3 separate regions of the Homo sapiens genome follow, and regions 2 and 3 are each linked to region 1. The links are contacts of gene promoters, found by promoter capture Hi-C in human tissues and cell types (Jung and others, 2019). All regions are on one chromosome and are shown on one strand. The core of a region is centred on a gene start or on the middle of the fragment in contact, and the rest is flanking DNA. Distances in the headings are between cores, read along the strand shown. Region 1 holds the start of PRIMA1 (proline rich membrane anchor 1). Region 2 overlaps FAM181A-AS1 (FAM181A antisense RNA 1). Region 3 overlaps UNC79 (unc-79 subunit of NALCN channel complex).

The links. The method cuts DNA at HindIII sites, captures the fragments that hold promoters and counts their contacts. A contact is called where the count stands out against the background at its distance.
Region 2: a fragment that was not itself captured here is called in contact with the fragment with the promoter of PRIMA1 in region 1 in 2 of the 25 tissues and cell types used here (heart left ventricle and pancreas).
Region 3: a contact is called between a fragment that was not itself captured here and the fragment with the promoter of PRIMA1 in region 1, in 6 of the 25 tissues and cell types used here (H1 embryonic stem cells, aorta, dorsolateral prefrontal cortex and 3 more).

What each region holds. Positions count from the first base shown.
Region 1 is chr14:93,787,006-93,791,485 of GRCh38, forward strand. PRIMA1 (proline rich membrane anchor 1) reads right to left here and starts at 1,480. Exons shown (of 5, transcript NM_178013.4): 1 at 1,405-1,480; 2 at 621-744. The coding sequence starts at 713. RefSeq lists enhancers at 846-1,557, 1,558-2,271, 2,272-2,983. The HindIII fragment of the contact is 12,037 bases long and covers 1-4,480 here.
Region 2 is chr14:93,907,905-93,912,384 of GRCh38, forward strand. It overlaps FAM181A-AS1 (FAM181A antisense RNA 1), which reads right to left. Exons shown (of 11, transcript NR_027004.2): 7 at 3,610-3,715; 8 at 2,666-2,705; 9 at 1,015-1,266; 10 at 66-208. Among named protein-coding and RNA genes, the nearest start is that of FAM181A-AS1, 16 kb to the right of the region's middle. The HindIII fragment of the contact is 4,934 bases long and covers 137-4,480 here.
Region 3 is chr14:93,700,450-93,704,929 of GRCh38, forward strand. It overlaps UNC79 (unc-79 subunit of NALCN channel complex), which reads left to right. Exons shown (of 52, transcript NM_001395159.1): 51 at 4,176-4,217. Among named protein-coding and RNA genes, the nearest start is that of PRIMA1, 86 kb to the right of the region's middle. The HindIII fragment of the contact is 4,233 bases long and covers 1-4,137 here.

The DNA of each region.
Region 1 (4,480 bases), core at 230-2,729:
GTGACGATGCGCATTCTGGGGGGGACTAGGGACCACCCCATTGAAACCCCTCTCTGACCCTAAGAGGTAACTCCAGTTAGTGGCTGCCTGGCCTCTGCCCTGGGATTTAAGGGACCCAGGGTGAGAGATTCAACCCTGGGCAGTCCTGACAGATGGGCCACCATGCATTATCTGTCTACATCCTCAACTCTGATACCTATAAGAAACACGGCTGCCTTCCGTGTTGAAAACCAGTTTAAGAAAGCTAATTTGAAGTTCATCAGTGGTTCTGGTGAGAAAGAAATAATATATATCCTTGGGATCATTTTTCTTTGTAAGTTTGTTTCTTTGCTGAATTTCTGCCCTAGAATGTTATCATTGGAAGGTATTCTCTGAGCCCCTTTCCATTCCAAGGCCAGCCCGGTCCTGCAGGATTTAGGCCACAATCGAAGCCTCTCTTTGGAGTTTCTTATCTTTTCAGGGGTAGGGTATAGGGGACCGTAGCAGCTTTTCTTTTCCCAAGCTCTTCCGAGAACCAATCAGTGGGGTGGCTGCAAGAGGCCAGGGTCTCAGGAGGGAAGGGACAGCTCGCCCCTTACCCAGGAGGCCCTCCCAGCCAGTGCGCAGCCGGCGCGTCTCACCTGCACGAAGCCCCAGAGCGGGTGGAGCGCGCAGTGCAGCAGCAGCGAGGACCAGCAGCAGCCACGGCGCAGCACCAAGTCCCGGAGGAGCATCTCGGCCAGCGGCGCCCGCTCCTGGGGCGAACTGTCAGGAGAGCAAGGCTAGGGTCAGGCGGACACCGCGCAGGCACTTCCGCCGCCGCGCACCAATATACCTCCCAGCCCGGGTCGGACGGGCACGCCCCGCACCCAGGGGCACCCTAGTAAACCAAGCCTGCACTTACACTCCAGCTTACACCTTCACTGACTCTTCGTCAGTCCCAGAATTCACACTCTTCTTACGCACATCCCCAGAGCCCCGCGTGTACACTTTAGCTCCGCGCACAGCTCCAGAATACTGCGTGCATACCTTGGCCCCATGGACACCTCCAGAAACAGCCAAGCACACTTACTGCGCCCCATTAACCCCCATACAACTCACTCTCACTGTGAGCACACTTCAAACCCGGCGGGCACTACTCACCTGCGCGCACAACCACAGAAACAGCCGTGCACACACACTGATCCCCGTGCACACCCACCGACTCCTGCCTGCACCCTCGCTGACCCTGCATGCACGGCCCCAAGAAATCTCACGCTGCCTGCACCCACACTGCCCAGCCGGCCTCATTGCGCACACTGCAACATAGGCACCTCCGTGCGCTGCCCCTTTGCACGCCTCCGCCCAGCCCCGATCTCCCGCTCCCGGGCGTGGGTTCCCCCACGCCTCCATCTCCGCCCGCACCCTTCCAACGCCTCACGCTACCTTGCCTGGCGGCGGCCCCAGCCGACCCTGGGCTCGGGGAAAAGAGGTCCGCGTTCCCCCCGCGGCAGCTCTGTTTCCCAGCAGCCGGACAGCCCCCATTTAAAGCCAGCCGCCTCCCCAGTCCCCCGCCCTCTAGGCGGGGCCTCCGTCCTCACCTTGGCGGCTGCGCGGGCGCCCGGGGGCTTCACATGCCGGGGAGGAGCGCCCGGCGCTGGAGCAAAAGTTTGCGCGCCGGTTGGGCCTCCCGGGCCGCTGAGCAGAGGACCAGGAGCGGCGTCCTCGCACGGGGCGCAGGGCGCGGTGGCTCCGGACTGCGCCTAGCCGCGCGCGGGGCGGGAGGGGCGGCACCCCGCTCCCAGGGCCAGGGCTGGCCGCCGAGGCGGAGGCAGAGGGCGGGGAAAGTCTCCTCCACGCCGCCTGGAGCCGGCCGCGCGAGCCCTCCCCGGGCCCGCGTTGGCTCCCCGCCTTTCCTGGTGGCGCCGCGCGGCTGCCCGGGGCACTGGGGTGCCCGAGCTCTCTACTACCCTCACGCTGGCCCGCGAGAGGCAGCGGCGGGAGGCGCCGGCAGGGAGCTCCCGCTGGGGCAGCAAAGCCGTGGGTGGAGGCGAAATAAATAATCCACGAAAAAGGAAAACAGACGTGAGCCGAGCCAGAGCCTCTCCCGCCTCCCGCCCGGGGTTGCGCTCCCCCCGCCGCCGCCGCCAGCGCCGCTGCAGTGATTCCTCGTCTCCATCTAGCGAGGCTATTGTGTATTGGGCGCTTAATTATTTATTCACCCTGGAGGCCGAGGATTCCCACTTCCATGGGGTTTTGGCCCTTGCCTGCGCTTCCCCCAAGCCTCTCCCGAGGCTGCGGAAAGGTGGCGAGGACTGACTTGAGACCCTTTTTTGCGCTCCATCCTTGAGGACTCTCCCCGCCGCACTCCCCGCAGGCTCTCCCGGGCGCCGGGGCTGAAAGGTGCAGGCCGCCCCTCTCCCGGCCATGGGCCTTGTCCTCTCCTTTGTAGTCCCAGCAGCAGAAACTCTCTTGCAACACTAGGCTGCGGCTGGGAAGGAGTTGTGACGGCCCTGGGGAGAACATTTCTACCACTGCTCTTCCTCAACCATCTGCAAACTCCTCTGTTTGAGGCAAGATTATCAACAAGTCGGTTCTTCGGGAGGTAGCCTGGTTGCATCTCTTTCAGACAAGCTGTGCCTAGCAGCATCACAGGCATGGCGCGGCCTCTCTGCTCTTGTGGTGGAAGCACTTTGCAAGCGCTTTGACTGATGGGGGCGCCTTCCAGAAGGCCCTCAAGGCCTGGACAATCCTATTTTTAGGTTGGATGAGAGAACCAGGGGCTTAAGACACAGAGCTGAGGGTCAGATACTACAGTGCATGCATGGAAGAAACATTTACTGAGCACCTTTTCCCGGTATTTGGACACCCTTAAGCCACTCATGTAAACACACACTATAAACGCTGGTTTGCAGAGTATAAACTACCTTGCAAGCCAGCTTTCAGAACAACGTCTTAGCGGCCTCCTTCATGCCAGAGCGCCGCCCCGAGGCTGCAGATTGCACCTCAACCAGCAAGATGCAGGGACAAATGTGAATGAGACCTTGTTCCTTCCCCCCTAAGAATTCAGGGGCCTGTCAGGGAGATGGATAAAACCAACCATTCCACTGTGCACTGGCATGTCACACACAGCTGCCCCGAGAAAGGGGAAGACAGGAATGGAGGGCGGGTTGAGTAAAGGCTCCCAGGAGAGGGTGACTTCCTGGGAGTAGGGGAACATCTCAAGCATTGGTAACTCTTTGTGCAAAGAAATGGAGACATTTATTCAATCCTTCATTCCTTCATTCCATATGTAGCCTCCATGGGCACCTGCTGGGGGCCAGACAGAACTCTGGATGCTGGGTAGAAAAGGGAACAAGAGGATATCTCACTGGGGGTGGGATAGGATGGAGGGAGGATGGCAAGAAGATGAAGGGGTAGGGACTTCCTAGGTGACTCATCTACAGTTTGGAGAAATGGAGCAGCTATTGGTCAGCTGAGGTCAAAATAACACTGGATATTTTAATGCCTGTCCGGCTAAAACAAGTCGTGGTATTTTGCTCAGCACAATCTTTACATTTGACAACAGCTCCTGATGTTTACACATGGAGCTCATTGCCACTTACAAATGTTATTTACACCGCATTTTAATTCAGGTCTCACAACTCTTTGATGTAAGTGTAATTGCCCTGTGTGAACAGTTCAGAGACCTTTGTGCCTGAGCCAGAATCACACAGCGGCTCACTGGGGGTTCAGAAATACTAACCCCCAACTAGAGGCTCACGACGTTGGGAGAACTTAGGTAAGTTTTGTGCATTGGAAAACCTGCATTGTCTAATCTGGTCTTCAATATTGCTGTAGTGGACCTAATCTATGCACCTCTCGAGGGTCACCTGGTGTAGATTGCCCGATTCTGTCACTGTTCAGTGTGCCACTTGTAGCCTGCACGGACCTAGGGGGACTGAACAAAGCGGGGCGAACGTGGGAATAAAAGACAAGAGATAAAAGAGTGTATTTGGAAGAAGGGGTCAGGGGGCGCCTTGCCTCTACTGGACAAGGGCCCTGAGTTTTACACAGCTCTCCATATTTATTAGGCAAAAGAGATAGTGAGAAAGGGGAGGGGGTGTGATTGTCCAGTAATTGTCAATTGGTTCACAGCAGGCTTGTGAGGCTGCATCCTTTGAACAATAGGTGCTAGATTTCCCAATAGATAACTTCGAGGAGCCCGGCACCAAGGAGTGATGTCCCTCAGCAAACCTTTTGGTGGCAGGGCCTTGTGAGTTTGCCCTCATCCTGCATTCATGATAAACAGTTTGCTGTTTGATCATATAGCCTCCAGCAGAATGATGAGTTGGTTACGTCCCATGGGCCTTCAGCTCCCTGCAACCTGGCCCCACATCCTGCTGACGCCCCTGTGACCTCCCTTAGGGTGAAGACCAGGCTCTGTCACAGGCCTCTTATGCCATGAGCGGCCTAGAGAGAACATGGCTCTTCTCACCCTTTTCAATCAGTTGGTAACCCACACCACGGCCACATGAGGTCT
Region 2 (4,480 bases), core at 1,354-3,853, 120 kb after region 1:
GTGATGGCAGGCAGGTGCCACACACAGAGGAAGAGGCTGAGGGTCAGAGAGGTTACATGACTTACCCTTGGCCACTCAGTTGGTGAGTGGCAGAACTGGGACCTGAAGCCAGGTTTATGGCTCCAGAGCTCCCCAGTCTCCTCGCCCATGGTGTTTCTCATGGTTTCTAAGGTCCTTTTCATCTCCAACTATCTGTGATTCAAGGTGTCTGACGAAGAAAAGAGATTCACAGGAGAGAGTAGGGTCTTGGCAGGTAGATAAGATAGGAACCAAAGAGACAGTTGACAGGACAGTCAGGCCTAGAGCAACCTCATAGACGAAAAGCACGGTCTTTACAGGAGAAGAAATTATGACCACCACTCAATTAGCCATCAAAACTATGTTTTCTGGGCCACCAAGGAGCACAAGAAAGGGCCCCATTGTCCGAAAACATGTTGAACTAAAATATCATCAGACTTTTAAAATAAACTTTGCAACTGCCCACACCAAACTTGCTGTCTCTGAGCAGCCTGGAAGTTCTCGAATATCCATCCATTTATCCATCTGTCCAACCATCCATCCATCCACACATCCATTTATCCACCCACCCATCTCCCCATGCCTCCATCCATCCACCCATCCATTCAATTGCCCACCTATCTACTTATCCATCCAACCTGTCCATTCAGTCATCCACTTCCCCATCCATCCATCCACCCACCCATTTCCCCATCTTTCCATCCATCCATCCATCCATCCATTTACCCATCCATCCAACCCTGAAGCCAAAGTAAGCGAGGGTGCCCCCTCGCTTACTTTGTGCACCCTCATCTACCCATCCATTCATCCATATGTCTGTCCATCAAACATTGCTGAGCCCTGAGCTACTGGTGCCTTATTCTCAAGAGCTCCTAATTGGATATTATTGGATATTATATGTCTCAGACATGTAGGGCAAAAAATGCAGAAATGTGTTGCATTAATTATCTATTGCAACAGATTGCTTAGCAGCTTGAAACAACAAGCTTGGATTACCTCACACAGTATCTGTGGGTCAGGAGTCTGGGAGTGGCTGAGCTAGGCTCAAGGTCTTTCATGAGGTTGAAGTTAAGATATTGACTGGGAATGGAGGATGTGCTTCCAGAATACTTGCTTATATGGCTACTGACAGGAGACCTCAATTCTCCACTGGCTTTTGGCCCAAGTCCTCTCAGCTCCTCATCACATGGGCCTCTCCTCAGGGCTCCTTGAGCATCCCCACAACATGGCAGCTGGCTTCCCCTAGAGCTGATCCAAGAGATTAAGGAGGAAGCTGCTGAGCCTCTTATGACCTCATCTCTGAAGTCACAGATGGTCACTTCATATCATTCTATTCACTAGAAGAGTGACTAAATCCAGACCACACTAAGGGGAGGAGTATTAGGCTCCACTTCTTAAAGGGATGAGTATCACAGAGCTTTCGACATACTTTAAAATCATCGCATGTGTGGAAGGTGCTGAGATAGAGTGTGAAGGATACTGAGAGGCAAGAGGGAGAACGTGGTCAATTCTACCTAGAATAATAGAGGGAGTCAGAGAAGTAAAGTTCTAACGAGGTGATAACGAATGAGCTGAGTTCTGTCCTAGACCTGGAATGTGACCTTAAACAACCCACCATCCCTTCCTGGGTCTCTGTGTTGTGGAAATAAATTGGGACCACCCAAAGGAGATCAAACAGAGGCCATTTATTGTGTGCTTGGTATGGCAAGGGAATGGGCCACTGTCACTTGCATTTGACAGAGACTCCCAGGCAGGCAGGGTGAGGGGAAGCATCATAGTGAAAAGGGGGAGGCCTCAGGTGTGCCCTGACTGGAGGTTGTTGCATGGGGAAGCGGGAGGTGGCTAGCTGGAAGCCCGACATCTTATGTGATTGCATTAGGAGCATATTTGGCTTTCTTTCATGGGTGTTGAGTTGGAAGCAGTAGTCAACAATAGGGAAGCTGACCAGGATTGACAGAGCCCTGACCATTCTGGGCCCATTGCCACAGAGGTTTGGTTTGGCTTCATGTGCTGCTTGCTGCAGAAATTGTGGGCCAAGGTTCTCTTTTCCTACACAGGCAGGCCATTGTCTGTTTGTACTTTGGGCTTTCGGGGTCCTCCCCTGAAAATCAAAGGTTGGTTGGCTGAGCTCTGAGGTCCTGCCCAGCCCTGACATTCTGAGGATCTGGCTTCTTCACCTGGAAATGAGGTGTACAGAGATGGAGATGTACTGGATGGAAAAAGGACTGGCTAGTCTGAGGGGTGGCCATGCCAGAGGTGAGGCCTTGTGGACAAACTGGAGATGAAAGACAGGGAGATGCCTCGAATGGACCCTCTTTCCTGCGGGTACTCCCAGGAGTTTCCAATTCTCAGCATCCCAGCATCTTTGACTCTGGACATGGAAGGTTACAGGTCACCTCAGGCAACTTCCCCAGTGCACACACTGATGCTTAAATCTGCATTACTATCTTCTCCCCAACTGTCAGTCTTATTCTTGCTCGATTACCTCTGGAGACAGCAAGCTCACTCTCAGTGGAGACAGGGGTGTGGCCCATCTGGTCTGGCACATGAGGTGGCTTCCAAGATGGCTGGTACATGTGCTGTGCTCAGCCCCTGAGCACTCATCCCACCACATCCTCCCCAGGCTGACCCTGCCCTTCCCTCTTACCCCGTGCAACAGCGGCTGAGGATTTGCCTCAGGAAGGACCCTGGCAAAAAGAGAGGGGAAGGTTAGAAGGGAACCCAGCCTTTTCCAATGCCACCTCCATAGGGAAGCCTTTTTATCAGATTAGCAATGGTCTGGAGGAAACGGGACACAGGACTGGTAAATTTTGACATGGAAATGGAGATGAGGAAAAACCTGTAAGTGCTCTTCAACTGTTATGTCTTTGCTATGACAGCACAGACCTCCTAGTGTCCCCATCTCATCTGATGGTCACCATCATCCTGAAGGGCATGGCAGGGTCCCTCCTCCCAGGTCCCCCCTCTTAGGGTGTGACTCCACCACCTGCCTGCTTGCCCAAGCCTGCAAGTCTCCCTGAACTTTTCTTCTCCTTTGTGCCCCCATTTCTGACCCTATAAAGTCTATTTCCTAATGGGCACAGAAACCCATCCTTCCTGTCCCTCCCCGGCCACTGTAGTGCAATAGTCATGCCCAGAGGCTGAGGCTCAACAACCTGGGCGCAAATCATGGCACTGACATGAATAAGTTGTGAGGCCTCTGGTGCCCGATCCCCCCTTGTTAAGCCCATCTCTCATCCTCATAGCGTCCCTTCCCCACCATCCAGCAGGATGAAGCCCACCCCACCCTCCCTTCCTCTGTCCCAGCCTCTGCCCCATCAGCCTATCCTCCAGGTTCTATCACACCCAGTAGCCCACACAGAGGTCGGTGAGCAGAGGACTCTTTAGCCCAGCTCTTAATGAAGGAGATGGAGGGGTGGGGGCTTGGGAAATAAATATACCAAACAACTCAATGACACAGGCCTTTTCTGCATGGAATTAAATTCACATGCAGATGGAGGCAGTAGCCCTGTAGGTGGACTGCTGGGGTTTGTGTCTGGCTCTGCCATTTACTAGCTGTGACCTTCAACAAGTCACTTCCCCAGTCTGTACCTTAGCTTCCTCATCTTAAGATGGGCTGCTAATAGTATCTACTCATGGGTTGTAAGACAGATAGCCCTTCCCAATGCAGGTGGACACCATCCATTCTGTTCAGGGCCTGCATAGAACAGAAAGATGGAGGGAGAGTGAGTTTGCTTTCTGCCTGTGACTGCTTGAGCTGGGACATCGATCTTCTGCCCTCAATGTTCCTGGCACTCAGGCCTTCAGATCTGAACTGGAATCTCCACAGTGGGCTTTACTGGGTCTCCAGCTTGCAGACAGTGAATTGTGGGACTTCTCCAGCTTCACAATCACGTGAGCCAATTCCTTCTAATAAATCTCCTCGTATGTGTGTGAGCTGTTGGTTCTGTTTCTCTGGAGAACTCTGATTAATACACCACATGCTTAGAATAGTGGCTGGCACATAGTAGGTACTCAATGAGTATTAGCAAATATTACTATCTTACCTGGTTCCATAAATACTCTCCCACTGAAAAGGTGTTCCTTTGTGTCTCACCTTGGAAGTGACAAGGCCACCAAACCCAATCCTTGCATGTTTCTCCAGGAGGCCTCTCTGGTCTTGTCTGGTGTCCATGAGCCCAGTTGCACCAGGGACTCCAAGGCCAGGCCTGTGGGGTGCTGAGACAACTGGCCTCTTAGTGCTGAGTGGGCGCCAGGGTCCCTCTGATGGCTGCCACCTGCAGCCACCTCTAGGCCCCTGCTGGCCAGGAGGTATGGGAAGCTCTGGGTGCACACCAGTTTCGGGGATGAGGCTGGGATCAGGGAAAAAAGTATGTCTGCTTGTCTGGTAGGGTCTGCCTCCCAACTCCACATGACTCAGTTTAATTCAGTTAATTCCCAAAGCACTTCTGAGCCCCTACTC
Region 3 (4,480 bases), core at 771-3,270, 86 kb before region 1:
CTGTTAGTTCTGTTATCTGTGTCATTTTTGTTTTATTTTCTGTTAATGGATTTTTCTCCTCATTCGTGTGTTTCTTTTGTTGTTGTTGTTTCTTAGCATGCCTGGTAATTTTTTATTGTATTCTTGACATTGTTAATTTGACTTTCTTGGGTGATGGATATTTTTATATTCATATAAAATATTCTTAAGCTGTATTCTGTGACATAGTTACATAACTTACAAATATCTTTATCCTTCTGAGGCTAACATTTAAGCTTTGTTAGGTATTGATCAGAGCAGCAATTTTTGTAGGGCACGTAGTTCTTCACTGCTGCTGCTGTATACCACTATCCTTATCAGTACTCTCATGATGTTCTATGAGTTATAAGATTTTTCCACTCTGACTAATAGGAACACAAAATATTCTTGGCCCTATATAATCACCAGGGGATTTTTTTCCTTCTAAGATTTTCGGGTCGTTTTTTCTCCAGTGTTGGGTAGTTTTTATAACTTGCATGTACTGGTCAGCACTCAGCTGAAGACTCAGGGGGATCCCTTTTCAGATCTTTGGAGTTGTCTCTCTCTCTGTAGATCTCTCCTGTCCAGTACTCTACCTTGAAAACTGTAGTCACTTTGACCTCCCAGGGCTCCTGGCTACCTCTCCTCACTCAGGAAGACTGCCAGGCTCCACCTGCATTCCTGCTGCCAGTGCTACTGCCTGAAAACTCTCTCTAGGCAGTGAGCTGGAATACCTGCAGGACTCACCTGGTTTGTTTCCTTTCCCTCAGTGATCTCTGTCCTGCATTTCTTGATGCTCAATACCTGAAAAACATTGTTTTTTATAGTTTGTCTGGATTTTTAGTTGTCCCAGGCAGGAGGGTAAATCTGGTCTTTGTTACTCCATCTTGGCTGAAAGAGAAAGTTTCATCACCAATTTTAATTTTGAGGGCTGGAATAAGCAGGATTGAAATGAGTACAGTCCAACCAGGCAGGAAGTCTTCCATTTGTTCTGTAGCATGAACCAAGATAAGAGGAAGGGTATCACTTTTATTCTTGTGAAAACCTATTTTTTAAATGTCCTTCAGTTTTCAGGATATTGTTTCTGAAGAGGGGGGAGAAAAAAAAGCCCAACCAACTTTACTCCATCATAACATTGCAGAGCCCAAAATAAATCACATCTAATTCTTACTGACAGATTTGTAGGAACCACTAGCAAAAGAGAATGAAAATGAAAGTTATTCAATAAGTCAAATTAACATTTCTGAAATAGGGTGATGGCTGGGTTATATAATGTCATCAATAATGATGAGCTTTAACTGGATACATTTAGTCACGTGATTTGCAAATCACAAACCTGAAGGTCCCTTGCAGGTATATTTTAGAATCACATGGTCATAGATTACATCAATGGGGAAATAATAAAAACACTTTTAGACCAACATCACTATTCCCCTTGCTTGCTTCACATGGACGCTTAGCCACAGTGGCAGCACTGGGAAAGGTATCCACCCAGGGACAGGGTACTCAGTACTCCCTGACCCTACTCTTCTCAAGTCCCTCACAATTCTTAACAGGAGGTTAGTTTGGGTATTTCCCAAATATCAAGAGGCGTATGGGCCCACTTCTGTATTAAATAGTCAAAGGTCAACAAAGTCTGTAGCATCAGCACCCTCCAGGGCTTGCTTTTTGCTGTGCAGAAATTATAGGGGGAGACAGTTAGACTAGATAAATTTTTTTTTTCCATTCAGAATGTCTAGAGGAGCCAGTCCTAGTAAGGGTCAGAGGGCACAGCCTTATCTGGTACCAATCTTTGTAATCCCACCGTTTTGTTATGAGGGTTGGGGGACAGGGGGAGGCATGGAGAGGGTGGCATCTTCTGATATTTTCAGCTTTAGTCTCATTACATTTTCTGATACACACCATACTCCATTTATAAACACAGTATTCATGTTAGAGACCAAGTGTTAGCTAGCTGCAACAGAAACACTACGTTTAGGAATGTTTAGGAGTAAATGTCAATAGAAGTCAAATTAGCGAATTATATACATCAACAGAATGTTAAAAGTCAAACAACAGCCAGATTTAGCCTTGGGAACAAAAACAGGGAGAGAAATGCAGCTTATCACTTCACCAAGTTCATTTTAAAGAAAATGTGATGAATTCAATGAAACCAGCAGCTTATGGCTATGACTAACTTTGAACTCTGAGGTCATTCACATACTGTCCCCCATCCCAAAAAGCTCTCCTTCGTCTTTGGTTTTGTTCATTACATCAGTGTCCCCCAGTTTGCCCAGGTTAGAAACCTCTACCTCTTCTTTGACCTTTTCCTCACTTGAAAGAGCAGACTCATCCTCAGATCCTCAAGATTTGTCTCTGCAGGTGGAATCCTTCCCCATCCCCAGAAACTGTCCCTGGTCTTCTCTGGACCATTGAGGCAACCTCCACAGTGGCTCTTGCCTCCATTCCCTGCCTCCTTCTTCACCCTAATCTGCAGGCTGCTGCCACGGTGATCTGTCTGGAGCACTGTTTTGCTCATGGTGAATAGAGCATCCCCTCTTCGGAAGTTGTATTGAATTTGGAATAAAATTCAGATCCCCTAATTTGGCATTTAGGGCCATCTGGTGGGCTAAGGGTGTGAAGGCCTGGCCTGTGCTTTTCTAAACTTGTTTTTCATGGCCGTTTTCTAAGAGCCTCACATGTCAGCATCACGTGACTGTCTCCCCTCCCCGACTCTCTGCACACTCCCACCAATGAGCTTCGCCATGCCTTCTCTCTGCTTCCTGGAATGCCCTTGTTCTGGCTTCCCAGGACTACCAAGGTATTACAGTCTGGGTGGTTCAACCAACAGAAATGTATTCCCTGGAAGTTCTGGAGACCAGAAGGCTGAGATCAAGGTGTCGGCAGGGTTGGTTTCTTTTAAGGGATTGGAGAGAGAATTTGTTCCAGACCTGTCTCCTAGCTTCTGGTGGTTTGCTGGGTCTTTGGGGTTCCTTGGCTTGTAGGTCCCTGTCTTCATCTTCACATAGCATGCTTTCTGTGTGTTTGTGTGTAGGTGTCTAAACTCCCCTTTTTATAAGGACACCCGTTATATTGGATTAGGGGCTCACCCTACTCAAGTATGACCCCATCTTAACTAATTTACATATTCAACAATCCCATTTCCAAATAAGGTCACATTGTGATGCAGTGCAGATTAGGACCTCAATATAGATTTTAATGGGGCACAATTCAATGCATGACAACACTACTCCTTTATTTGAGTGGAGGGTTGGAAGGAATATGGAGCGAAATGATATGATGCATATTGGTGTATTAAAGATCTGAGAAGTACTGAAATATAGAAACTAACATTTCCAAACCTATTGGATCGGAGTCCCCCTCCACCATTTAAAAGCTCTCCAAATTAGAGTGCCATGGGACACAGTTTGAGGAATGCCATATTCTGTCTCCGACTTCTGGATGCACAAGGCCATGAATATTTACTTAGATTTTAAAGGACTGAAACACGGAGGAGGGCCCAAAGCAGAGAGAAGGAGCAGCTTCTGGAGGTCCTCAGGCCAGGGCACCTATGACCTCCTCCCAGGAAGGACCACATCAGAGGGGTTGAGGTCCTGTCAGAGAGGCAGCAGAGGGCCAGGGTTCTCCAGCAGGGACTTGCTGCTTGGCTGTGTGTGCTCCCACACTTCGCAGACACCCGGCTCAGTCTCGCTGTATTACACCTTCCAGATCGCAGCCAGGCATCTTGGAGTGGTCTTTCTCGCTCACTTAAGTGTTCCATCCACTGACCAGAGATATTTTCTTAATGACTACAGGCAAATAGAGTCGCCATTCCACTCAGACACTCAGTTCTAAAGATCCTGTGGAGGAAATTCTATTTCAAGAAAGTGAGGATTTAATTAAATAAATACACATTTAATTTCCTGTGCTTGGTAGCTTTCGAGAGACAATCAGTCATTTACTCTAAAGTGTGTATCTCAGGCACTCATGGGGCGCTTATTAACCTCCAAATGCCACTGGCTCAGCGGGGTTTGGCCTCAGAAAGACATTTTGCTGATAACGGGTAGCCCTGCAGCAGGGCCCACATCCGTGCGCGACGTGAAAGGGATTCAATGTGGCCTGTTTTCCCTTGCAATGAGCGAAGCTTTGTGGGAGAATAGAGGACACTAATAATGAAGCTTTTGTCTTTCTCTATACAGCTGATACCTATGTGGTTGCCAATGATTCAGTCAAATATCAAGGTAAGTCACTCCCTGGGCTGATTGGAAGCTCGGTTTCCTGCAGAGAACGTATAACGTTCCTAGGGATTGTTGATGCTCCATTTACTATGGAGAAGGATGAATTCAACCTGCTCCTGGCCTTAGAGGGCTGATAATGCAGGAGACCTGTGGGCCAGGTAAGGGCTCTGCAGGCAGGGGGTGGCAGCAGGAACCATTGTCCTACTGCTTGAGGTTGGTGAGGATGCAGTGGAGGGCGGTATCCCAGGGTCTGAGCAAGCCTCAAT